Regions from separate parts of the Homo sapiens genome. Here region 1 is linked to region 2. The links are contacts of gene promoters, found by promoter capture Hi-C in human tissues and cell types (Jung and others, 2019). All regions are on one chromosome and are shown on one strand. Each heading gives the region's core, a stretch centred on a gene start or on the middle of the fragment in contact. The rest is flanking DNA. Distances are from core to core; before and after follow the strand shown.

Region 1 (4,659 bases), core at 1,381-3,880, 280 kb before region 2:
CTTGGGCTCAAGCAATCCTTTGGCCTCAGCTCCCTAAGTAGCTGGTACTACAGGTGCTTGCCACCACACCTGGCTAATTTTTGTATGTTTTGTAGAGACGGGTTTTGCCAGGGTGGCTTTTGAAAGTTTAATTATGGCTGGGTGTGGTGGCTCACACCTGTAATCCCAGCACTTTGGGAGGCTGAGGTGGGGTGGATTGCTTGAGCCCAGGAGCTTGAGATCAGCCTGGGAAACATGGTAAAACCGCATCTCTAACCACCCTCAAAAAAAATTTAGCCGGGTATGCTAATGCATGTCTGTAGTCCTAACTACTTGGGTGCCTGAGGTGAGAGCATCTCTTGAGCCTGGGAGATGGAGGTTGCAGTGAGCCAAGATCATACCACTGTACTCCAGCCTGGGTGGCAGGATGAGAGTGTCTCAAAAAAATAAAAAATAAGAGTTTAATTATGTGTCAGTGTGGATCTCCTCTCTGAGTTCATCTCACTTGTGTTAGAGGCATTTGAATCACAGCAACTCCATCTTGAATAGAGGCTGAGTAAAATAAGGCTGAGACCTACTGGACTGCATCCCCAGATGGTTTTGTTCCTCAGATTTGGTAATTTCCATTGTTCTATCTCCAAGTTCACAGATTCTTTTCTCTGTTCAAATTTGCTTTGAATCCCTCCAGTGCATTTTTTATTTGTTATTATACTTTTCAGCTCCAGAATTATTTTTCGGTTTCTTTGTAGGTTTTCTATCTCTTTACTGATACTACTGATAGAGATAGGAGACAGCCATATGCCGCACAGGTCATGGTGCACAGGGTACTTCCCTAAACATGCCCATGGTGAAAAATTCTGTCCCTTAACACAAATGCAGTAAGGGAAATCAATGTGGAGTGGCTCAGACTAACGGCCCGCATGCGCACTGAAGAATGGGGGTGGAGCCACCAGGAATTCACCCCTTATGCTGGGAGAGGAGCCTGGCCTCTTCAGCTCATGTGTGTTGGCCTGGTATTCAATCTGTGAGGTGGGAGCCTGTTGGCAGGACCCTCTCTTTTTTGCTGAGATGAGAGCTTTCTTTTAATAAATTCTGCTCTCCTCACCTTTCACAGGTGTCTGTGTGCCTAATTTTTCCTAGTTGTGAGACAAGAACCCAGATTTAGTGGAGCTAAGGAGCAAAAAATCCTGCATCATTTTGGTGGCCCATACAGGGACATGAGGAGGGATGAGTAAAATGCACACCAAAAAAATCTGTTTCCCTTTCCTTTTTGAGCTTTCTTGTCCTCAGCCTTCTTCTGAGGATAGAGGAAACTGCACCCCCTCACCCCATTGCTCTCAGGGACTGGGAATGTCAGCCTTGGTCCAACTCAGCCTTTTCTATGGCATTTTCCTTCTGTTTGCAGGACTGTAATGGCACTTATCTTTTACAATATTGGGGGTATTCCACCCCCACCTCAATGGCTGCAGATGCATGCATGGGACGGACAGGCAAGTGGTGGCTCCCTGCCCCTCCCAGCTGGGGCTGGGGCTCATGGCCCAAGGGCCCCATGCAGCTGTCTGTCCAGTGTTCCACACCACATACCATGGAGTCTTCCCCTCCTCCTGCTGAGGGGTCCAGCTCAGTCCAAACCCCAGGGTAGAAACAGCAATTAAAAGTTTCTTGGCCAGGCGCAATGGCTCATGCCTGTAATCCCAGCACTTTGGGAGGCTGAGGCGGGCAGATCACCTGAGGTCAGGAGTTTGAGACTAGCCTGGCCAACATGGTGAAACCCCGTCTCTACTAAAAATACAAAAATTAGCCGGGCATGGTGGCATGCACCTGTAATCTCAGCTACTCGGGAGGCTGAGGCAGGAGAATCACTTGAACCTGGGAGGTGGAGGCTGGAGTGAGCCAAGATTGTGCCACTGCACTGCAGCCTGGGCAACAACAGTGAAACTCCATCTTAAAAAAAAAAAGTTTCTCTCCCTGTTGGAGAAACTCATTTGCATAAGAATAAAAGGTTTGTTCTCCGGGCATCTTTTTCTTTTCTCCATCCTGTCAGCAGTTAACAAAGCCCTGCATTTACGCTGTTTTTCTTTTCCTTTTCTCCACCAGGCCAGGAATAGGTTGGTGCAAAAGTAGTTGCAGTTTTTGCTATTACTTAGAACGGCGAGGACTGTGACTGTTTTTGCACCAACCCAATAACATGGCCCTGCAAGTAGAGGGGGCTTCTCTACGCTACAGGCTTTTTTCCTTTTAGAAGATGTTTTACTCAGCCAGGATCCCAACTCAGAAGACACCCCTTTTCTCTCCCTTGTTGGAGAAGGACTCAATTCCACAGCTTGACCTTAGCATTCAGCTTGGTAAGGAGTCCATGCAACATCCTGAGGCAGTTATTTTGACCCAAACTCAATTCCAAGCTTTGGATCGAAGCCCTAGGAAAGAAAACTGGATCTGAGGGATCCAGAGGCAGACGACAACAGAAGTGAAAAGGTACAGCACAGGTAAGCATGACTAATTTCTGCGGATTAAGCCAAGCCTCATTTCATGGATAAAGGTCATGCTAGTATCCATGGCATAAATGAGGTCTAGGGAATGCAAAGGCTATTGACAACAGAGAAGATAAGGCATATATGGGTAAGAGCAGATAATCCCACTCCCTACCCACCCCCCCCCCCCACATAACATGGGTGAAAGCCACTTTGACACCCATGGGAGGCATCCTGTCATGGTTGCCGGGACTCAGGGATACAAGGACAAAAGAAAGAGGGACGCCTTGCTTTCTCTCCCTCATGTACCTCGGGTATTTGCTAGGAAGAGAAGGGAACCAGGGACGCCTTGCTCCCCTCTTTCTAGATGAGTAGGCATACATCTTTCAAATGCATCCTGAGTCCTGGGGCTCCTTTAAATAAATGCCTTCTTATTCCTTTCTCCTCCTCTGTCCTCTCTTTACAGATGGGTGATTGTGTCCCCATGCTGTGGGATGCTCTCCTGGGATGTATCCTCCAAACTGGGAGAAGTTAATTTCCTAAACCTTAAACTGGTTGGCTTGGGATTGAGCTCAGCAGGGAGGGAACTCAGAAGCCTGACATGTCAGCAAAAGGGTAGGAGTTTTTTTGTTTTTTGTTTTAACCAGTCAGGATTTTGACCTCTGTCTCCCTAAACAAACCAGAAAGGGAATGATAAGGATCACTGTTTATATTATCTGTAAAGTTTTAATTAATAAAAAAGGATTTGTGAGGTTGGTCTTAAGCTGTAGCCAAGCTGGTGTGCTCTGCATGTCTCTCCGTATAGTTCTGTCAGAAAGAGGGGTACCTTGGGATGGGATGTGGGTCTAGGACTCCATAGGCCTGCTGTTGAAGCAAGCCCAGCAAACTGGCCAGTGGCAAACTTTGCTGCAGGCCTCCATCTGGTTTTACGTCCTTGGAAGCGTGACCTGTAACCACATGGCAGTGCTTTGTTTTAGCTTCTGCCATTTTACAGTGGCAGCCCGGGTTCAATCCTGGCTTAGGGAATGAGTCCTTTCTGGCTTGATATCTTTGTGACCTTTATCATTTGTTGATTCTCTTCCCCTTCATGAACCACCTTAAATTTTCCTTTCTCTGAACACCTGGGAGGTTACCTTTGGTAATGTTCAGAAGCCAGAAATATTGGCTGCTTGGCATGGCTAATGTTGGGTAATAAAGGATTTAAAAGGATTTTCTTGGCCAGGTGTGGTGGCTCATGCCTATATTCCAGCAACATAGTGAGACCCTGTCTCTATAAAAAATAAAAAATTGGCTGGGCATGGTGGCATGTAGTCCCAGCTACCCAGGAAGCTGAGGAGGGAGGGTTGCTTGAATCCAGGAGGTTGAGGCTGCAGTGAGCCATGATTGTGCCCTGTATTCCAGCCTGGGTGACAGAGCAAGACCGTCTCAAAAAACAAAACAAAACAAAACAAAAAACACAGCTGGGCATAGTGGTTCACGCCTGTAATCCCAGCACTTTGGGAGGCTGAGGCAAGTGGATCACTTGAGGTCAGGAGTTCTAGACCATCCTGGGCAACATGGCGAAACCCTGTCTCTACTAAAAATACAAAAATTAGTTGGGCATGGTGGTGGGTGCCTGTAATCCCAGCTACTCAGGAGGCTGATGCAGGAGAATCACTTGAACCCAAAAAGCAGAGGTTTCAGTGAGTGGAGATCACACTGCTGCACTCCAGCCTGGGCAATAGACCTCAAAAAAAAAAAAAAAAAAAGAAAGAAAAAAAGGATTTCCTTTCCCTTTCCTTTCCCTTCTCCTTTCCCTTTCCTTTCTTTTCTTTTTTAGATGGAGTCTTGCTGTGTTGCCCAGGCTACAGTGCAGTGGCATGATCTTGCCTCACTGCAACCTCCGCCTCCTGGGTTCAAGTGATTTCCAGCTAATTTTTGTATTTTTAGTAGAGATGGGGTTTCACCATGTTGGCCAGGCTGGTCTTGAACTCCTGACCTCAAGTGATCCGCCCACTTCGGCCTCCCAAAGTGCTAGGATTACAGACATGAGTCACCACACCCAGACCCCAAAATAGGATTTTCTTAAAGAGCGCTCAGCTTAATTAAAAGTGGATATCTGGGGGGCTGGCACGCGGCAGCGTTGCGGGTGGGAGCGGCTGCAACTCTGGTGCCTGAGGAGCGATACCAAGAGAAATCATCACCCACAATTGGGCCAGTGCAGCAATCA
Region 2 (4,705 bases), core at 172-2,671:
TCTGTTATTGGTGTATAAGACTGCTTGTGATTTTTGCACATTGATTTTGTATCCTGAGACTTTGCTGAAGTTGCTTATCAGCTTAAGGAGATTTTGGGCTGAGACGATGGGGTTTTCTAGATATACAATCATGTCATCTGCAAACAGGGACAATTTGACTTCCTCTTTTCTTAATTGAATACCCTTTATTTCCTTCTCCTACCTGATTGCCCTGGCCAGAACTTCCAACACTATGTTGAAAAGGAGTGGTGAGAGAGGGCATCCCAGTCTTGTGCCAGTTTTCAAAGGGAATGCTTCCAGTTTTTGTCCATTCAGTATGATATTGGCTGTGGGTTTGTCATAGATAGCTCTTATTATTTTGAGATACGTCCCATCAATACCTAATTTATTGAGAGTTTTTAGCATGAGGGTTGTTGAATTTTGTCAAAGGCCTTTTCTGCATCTATTGAGATAATCATGTGGTTTTTGTCTTTGGTTCTGTTTATATGCTGGATTACGTTTACTGATTTTCGTATGTTGAACCAGCCTTGCATCCCAGGGATGAAGCCCACTTGATCATGGTGGATAAGCTTTTTGATGTGTTGCTGGATTCGGTTTGCCAGTATTTTACTGAGGATTTTTGCTTCAATGTTCATCAAGGATATTGGTCTAAAATTCTTTTTTTGTTGTGTCTCTCTCTGCCACCCTTTGGTATCAGGATGATGCTGGCCTCATAAAATGAGTTAGGGAGGATTCTCTCTTTTTCTTTTGATTGGAATAGTTTCAGAAGGAATGGTACAAGCTCCTCCTAAAATGTGGCACATATACACCATGGAATACTATGCAGCCATAAAAAATGATGAGTTCATGTCCTTTGTAGGGACATGGATGAAGCTGGAAACCATCATTCTCAGCAAACTATTGCAAGGACAAAAAACCAAACACCGCATGTTCTCACTCATAGGTGGGAATTGAACAATAAGAACACATGGACACAGGAAGGCGAACATCACACACCGGGGACTGTTGTGGGGTGGGGGGAGGGGGGAGGGATAGCATTAGGAGATATACTTAATGCTAAATGACGAGTTAATGGGTGCAGCACACCAACATGGCACATGTATACATATGTAACAAACCTGCACGTTGTGCACATGTACCCTAAAACTTAAAGTATAATAATAAAAAAAATGCTTACTTTAAAAAAAGAAAGAAAAGAAAAAAAAAAAAAAGAAGGGTTCAGGCCGCTGTGGGAGGCCCAGCACCACCCAGCACAAGACAGTACGGTATCCCGCCGCGCGCCCGACTCCACCTGGCGAGCAGGGAGGGGCCAAGCTTACGCGAGGCGTGGCATCCCGCCCCTCGCTGCATTGTACTTCCGGGCTCACATTTCTGCATCCGGAGTATGAGAACCCTCAACCAGGCTGACCGGATCCGGAAGTGGATTGCGAGCCAGGAGGAGGAAGCCGGCGGTGGCCCCGTCAGCAGCCGGCTGCTGAGAGGCCGGTAGGCGGCGGCGGTCCCGAGGGGCGGCGGCCGCGCTGCTCCCTGAGAACGGGTCCCGCAGCTGGGCAGGCGGGCGGCCTGAGGGCGCGGAGCCATGAAGCTGTACAGCCTCAGCGTCCTCTACAAAGGCGAGGCCAAGGTGGTGCTGCTCAAAGCCGCATACGATGTGTCTTCCTTCAGCTTTTTCCAGAGATCCAGGTGAGCGGCACAGGCTGGTGGGCCGTGGCGGTCGGGCGGAGAGGACTGGGGTGGGGGTCCGAGTCGGAGTGGGCCTGGGGTCGGCGGAGGGATGAGGGGAGGGTGGAGGAGGCCAAGGGTAGGGGCAGGGCGGGGTGGCCGAGTGCCCGGGGTCTGAGAAGGCTGGTGTCCGAGTCAGAGGCGGGGCGGGGTGGGGAGGGCCCGGGGTCTGCTGTCCGGGCTTGGTCTCCTATAATGGAATCTGGCCGTGGACTCTACCTTTGAGGAACCAACATTAGCTCTTTAAGAGCTTATACCATTCTAGAATATAGTTCTCTACTCAGTGTTTTTCAAATTTCTGTCGTGTAAAAATTTTAAGGAGACTGTGAAGTAGTGCAGATTTCCAAGCTTCATGCCAAGATGTTCTGAATTAGTAGATTGAGGCCTCGGTATTTATATTTTAGACCAACACTTCCCACCCAGTGATTCTGACTCTGGGAGCTTGGGTGCCGCATCTTGAGAGCCATATTTTGATTTTCTTGCGGGGCTTCCCAACAATTCTGTATGAGAGATAGTGATATACTTTTTTTTGTTTGTTTTTAATGGGTGAAGTCACTGAGGTACCAAGAGGTTATATCACAACCAGCTAGAACTGAAAGCCAGGTTTAACGCTTTTTAGTTGGACACTAGTGGTACAAAAGGATTCCACACGGAAGATGCAAATGAAGCATGGGATCTGTAGGGCTTACAGGCTTTTACTTGTTTCTGGGGCGCTTTAATTGCTGGAACGTGTTAGAAGTAACACAGACACTTCCAGACCATTCGTGGGAGGGATTGGGGTGACTCAGGCACGAAAGAAGGAGGACCCTACATGGTCGGTATCTATGGTCATCTTGTCTCAAAATCTGATGGAATCTGCCGTTTGGATTCTGTTTTCCCTGCTTCAGTGCAGCTGGTTCTTGATGAGAGTTCTTTGCCAAGGACTTGCTGGATGTAAAAAAAAAAAAATGTTATTTTGTTGAAACTTTCTGCTTCTTTGAGTTCTTTTAAAAAAATATTTTTAATTGTGGTAAAATGGTACACAAAATTTATCTTCACTATCTTTAAGCGTGTAGTGAGTGCATTGATATGAAATAGATTGATAGTGTTGTGCAGCCATCACTGTCAATCGTCTCCAGAACTCCTTTTTATCAAATTCGTGTCTATTAAACACATTCCCTTCTCCCCCAGCCCATGGCAACTGCCATTCTAATTTGTCTCTGTGATTTTGACTTTTCTGGCGACCTTAGATAAATGGAATCATATAGTTTTTGTGTGTCTGGCTTATTTCATGTAGCATAATGTCCTCAAGGCTCATGCATCTTGTTGCATATATCAGAATTTCTTTCCTTTTTAAGGCTGAATAATCCATTGTATTATTCACCACATTTTGCTTATCTGTTCATCTGTCAGTGGACACCTGGGTTGCTTCCACATTTCAGCCATTGTGAATGATACTGCTATGAACATGGATGTACAAATATCTCTTCAAGACCCTGCTCGCATTTTTTTGGTATTTACCCAGAAGCGGAATTGCTGCATTATCTTTTAGCTCCTTCTTGGGGTTCTTGGTCTTTGCAGTCTTTACCATGGCCTACATTCACTGCTCTGTGTTGTTGCTTTTCTCAGATGGAACTTTTGGTGCCAACTTGGCTCTGATTCTTTTTCCTTTTTCCTTCCCATTAGTACTTAAGATTCTCAGAGATTTCACTTGTAGGACTTATACCTCACCTGCTTGGGATGCCCACACTAGTTTCCAATGACTAACAGCTGCAACACTAAAGGGACATCTCTACTAATATGTCTTAAAACAACACATGTCCCAGCTGATTTATTTATTTATTTATTTTATTTTAGATGGAGTCTTGCTCTGTCACCCAGGCTGGAGTGCAGTGGCACAGTGTCAGCTCACTGCAACCTCCGCCTCCTGGGTTCAAGTGATTCTCCTGCCTCAGCCTCCCAAGTAGCTGGGATTACAGGCGCGCACCACCACACCCGGCTAATTTTTGTATTTTTAGTAGAGATGGGGTTTTACCATGTTAGCCAGGCTGGTCTCGAACTCCTGAGCTCAAGTGATCCGCCTGCCTTGGCCTCCCAAAGTGCTAGGATTACAGGCTTGAGCCACCACGTCCGGCCTGAGCTTGTTTTCTTATAAGACCGCTTTACTTACGTCCTTTGTGCCCTATAATTACCCGATTCCAAAGTTGAAAAAGTAGTTTCCCAGCTTTTTTGGTCTTTGTATACATGCTGTCACAATGCAGTTCTTCCTTTGTCTCTTTATAGCCGTGTCTCAAATGCTGTCTCTAGGTTTACTGCAAAGCCTTCCTTGTTTGAGGTCTTCTTTTCTGAGGGGTTATTTTGATCACTTCAGTCCCTCAAGATATTAACAAGTAATACTGTGTGTGCAGGCATTGTTCCAAGTGCTTTACACGTATTACCTCGTTTAACTGTTGCACAAATCTTGATTTTTTTAATGTGGAGGCACAGCACACAGGCCCAGAGTCAGGCCTTCAGTTACCTATATGGCTCTGCTGGAGCCTGCTGCAGACTCCCATTTGAGCACCCTGCTTTGATGGCCCTGGTTGCCCTTTATATCACATCCTCAGTTGGAGGCTCCTTGTCAGCACCTCTTCCTCTGGCTGTACCATCTCCTGTGACTGTTCTGTTCTGGATAGATCTCTCTGTTGAGCCCATGATGGACCTTCTCCCTTTCACCCTTTGTATGAGCCATTTCCCACTTCTTTGTCTTGGATGAGCAGTTTTCCTTTTGTTCCATCCAGAGTGTCTTGCGCTCGTTCTGTGGACGAGCCCCAGCAGACCTGAGCCAGCACTCACTATGGGTGTATGTGGCATTGCGAGGGTCTGTCATGTGGACACAGCCATAAATGGTTGTGCATTTCTGCCTGACAGTTTTTGCACACTATTCTTCTAGTGCAGTTCTTATAAATGTCCTGCTTCTTGGAAGTTATTGGGACCTTGAGAGCAGGACCTGCCTCTTGTTTTT

What was found. Contacts are between HindIII fragments. The study calls those that stand out against the background at their distance.
Region 1: a contact is called between a fragment that was not itself captured here and the fragment with the promoter of YKT6 in region 2, in 1 of the 25 tissues and cell types used here (spleen).

Annotation. Positions count from the first base shown.
Region 1 is chr7:43,914,084-43,918,742 of GRCh38, forward strand. It overlaps a transcript of URGCP not described here and the pseudogene TUBG1P. Among named protein-coding and RNA genes, the nearest start is that of URGCP-MRPS24, 9.8 kb to the left of the region's middle. The HindIII fragment of the contact is 8,195 bases long and covers 1-4,659 here.
Region 2 is chr7:44,199,557-44,204,261 of GRCh38, forward strand. It overlaps YKT6 (YKT6 vesicular SNARE protein), which reads left to right and starts at 1,422. Exons shown (of 7, transcript NM_006555.4): 1 at 1,422-1,683. The coding sequence starts at 1,580. RefSeq lists a silencer at 1,529-1,598. The HindIII fragment of the contact is 4,070 bases long and covers 942-4,705 here.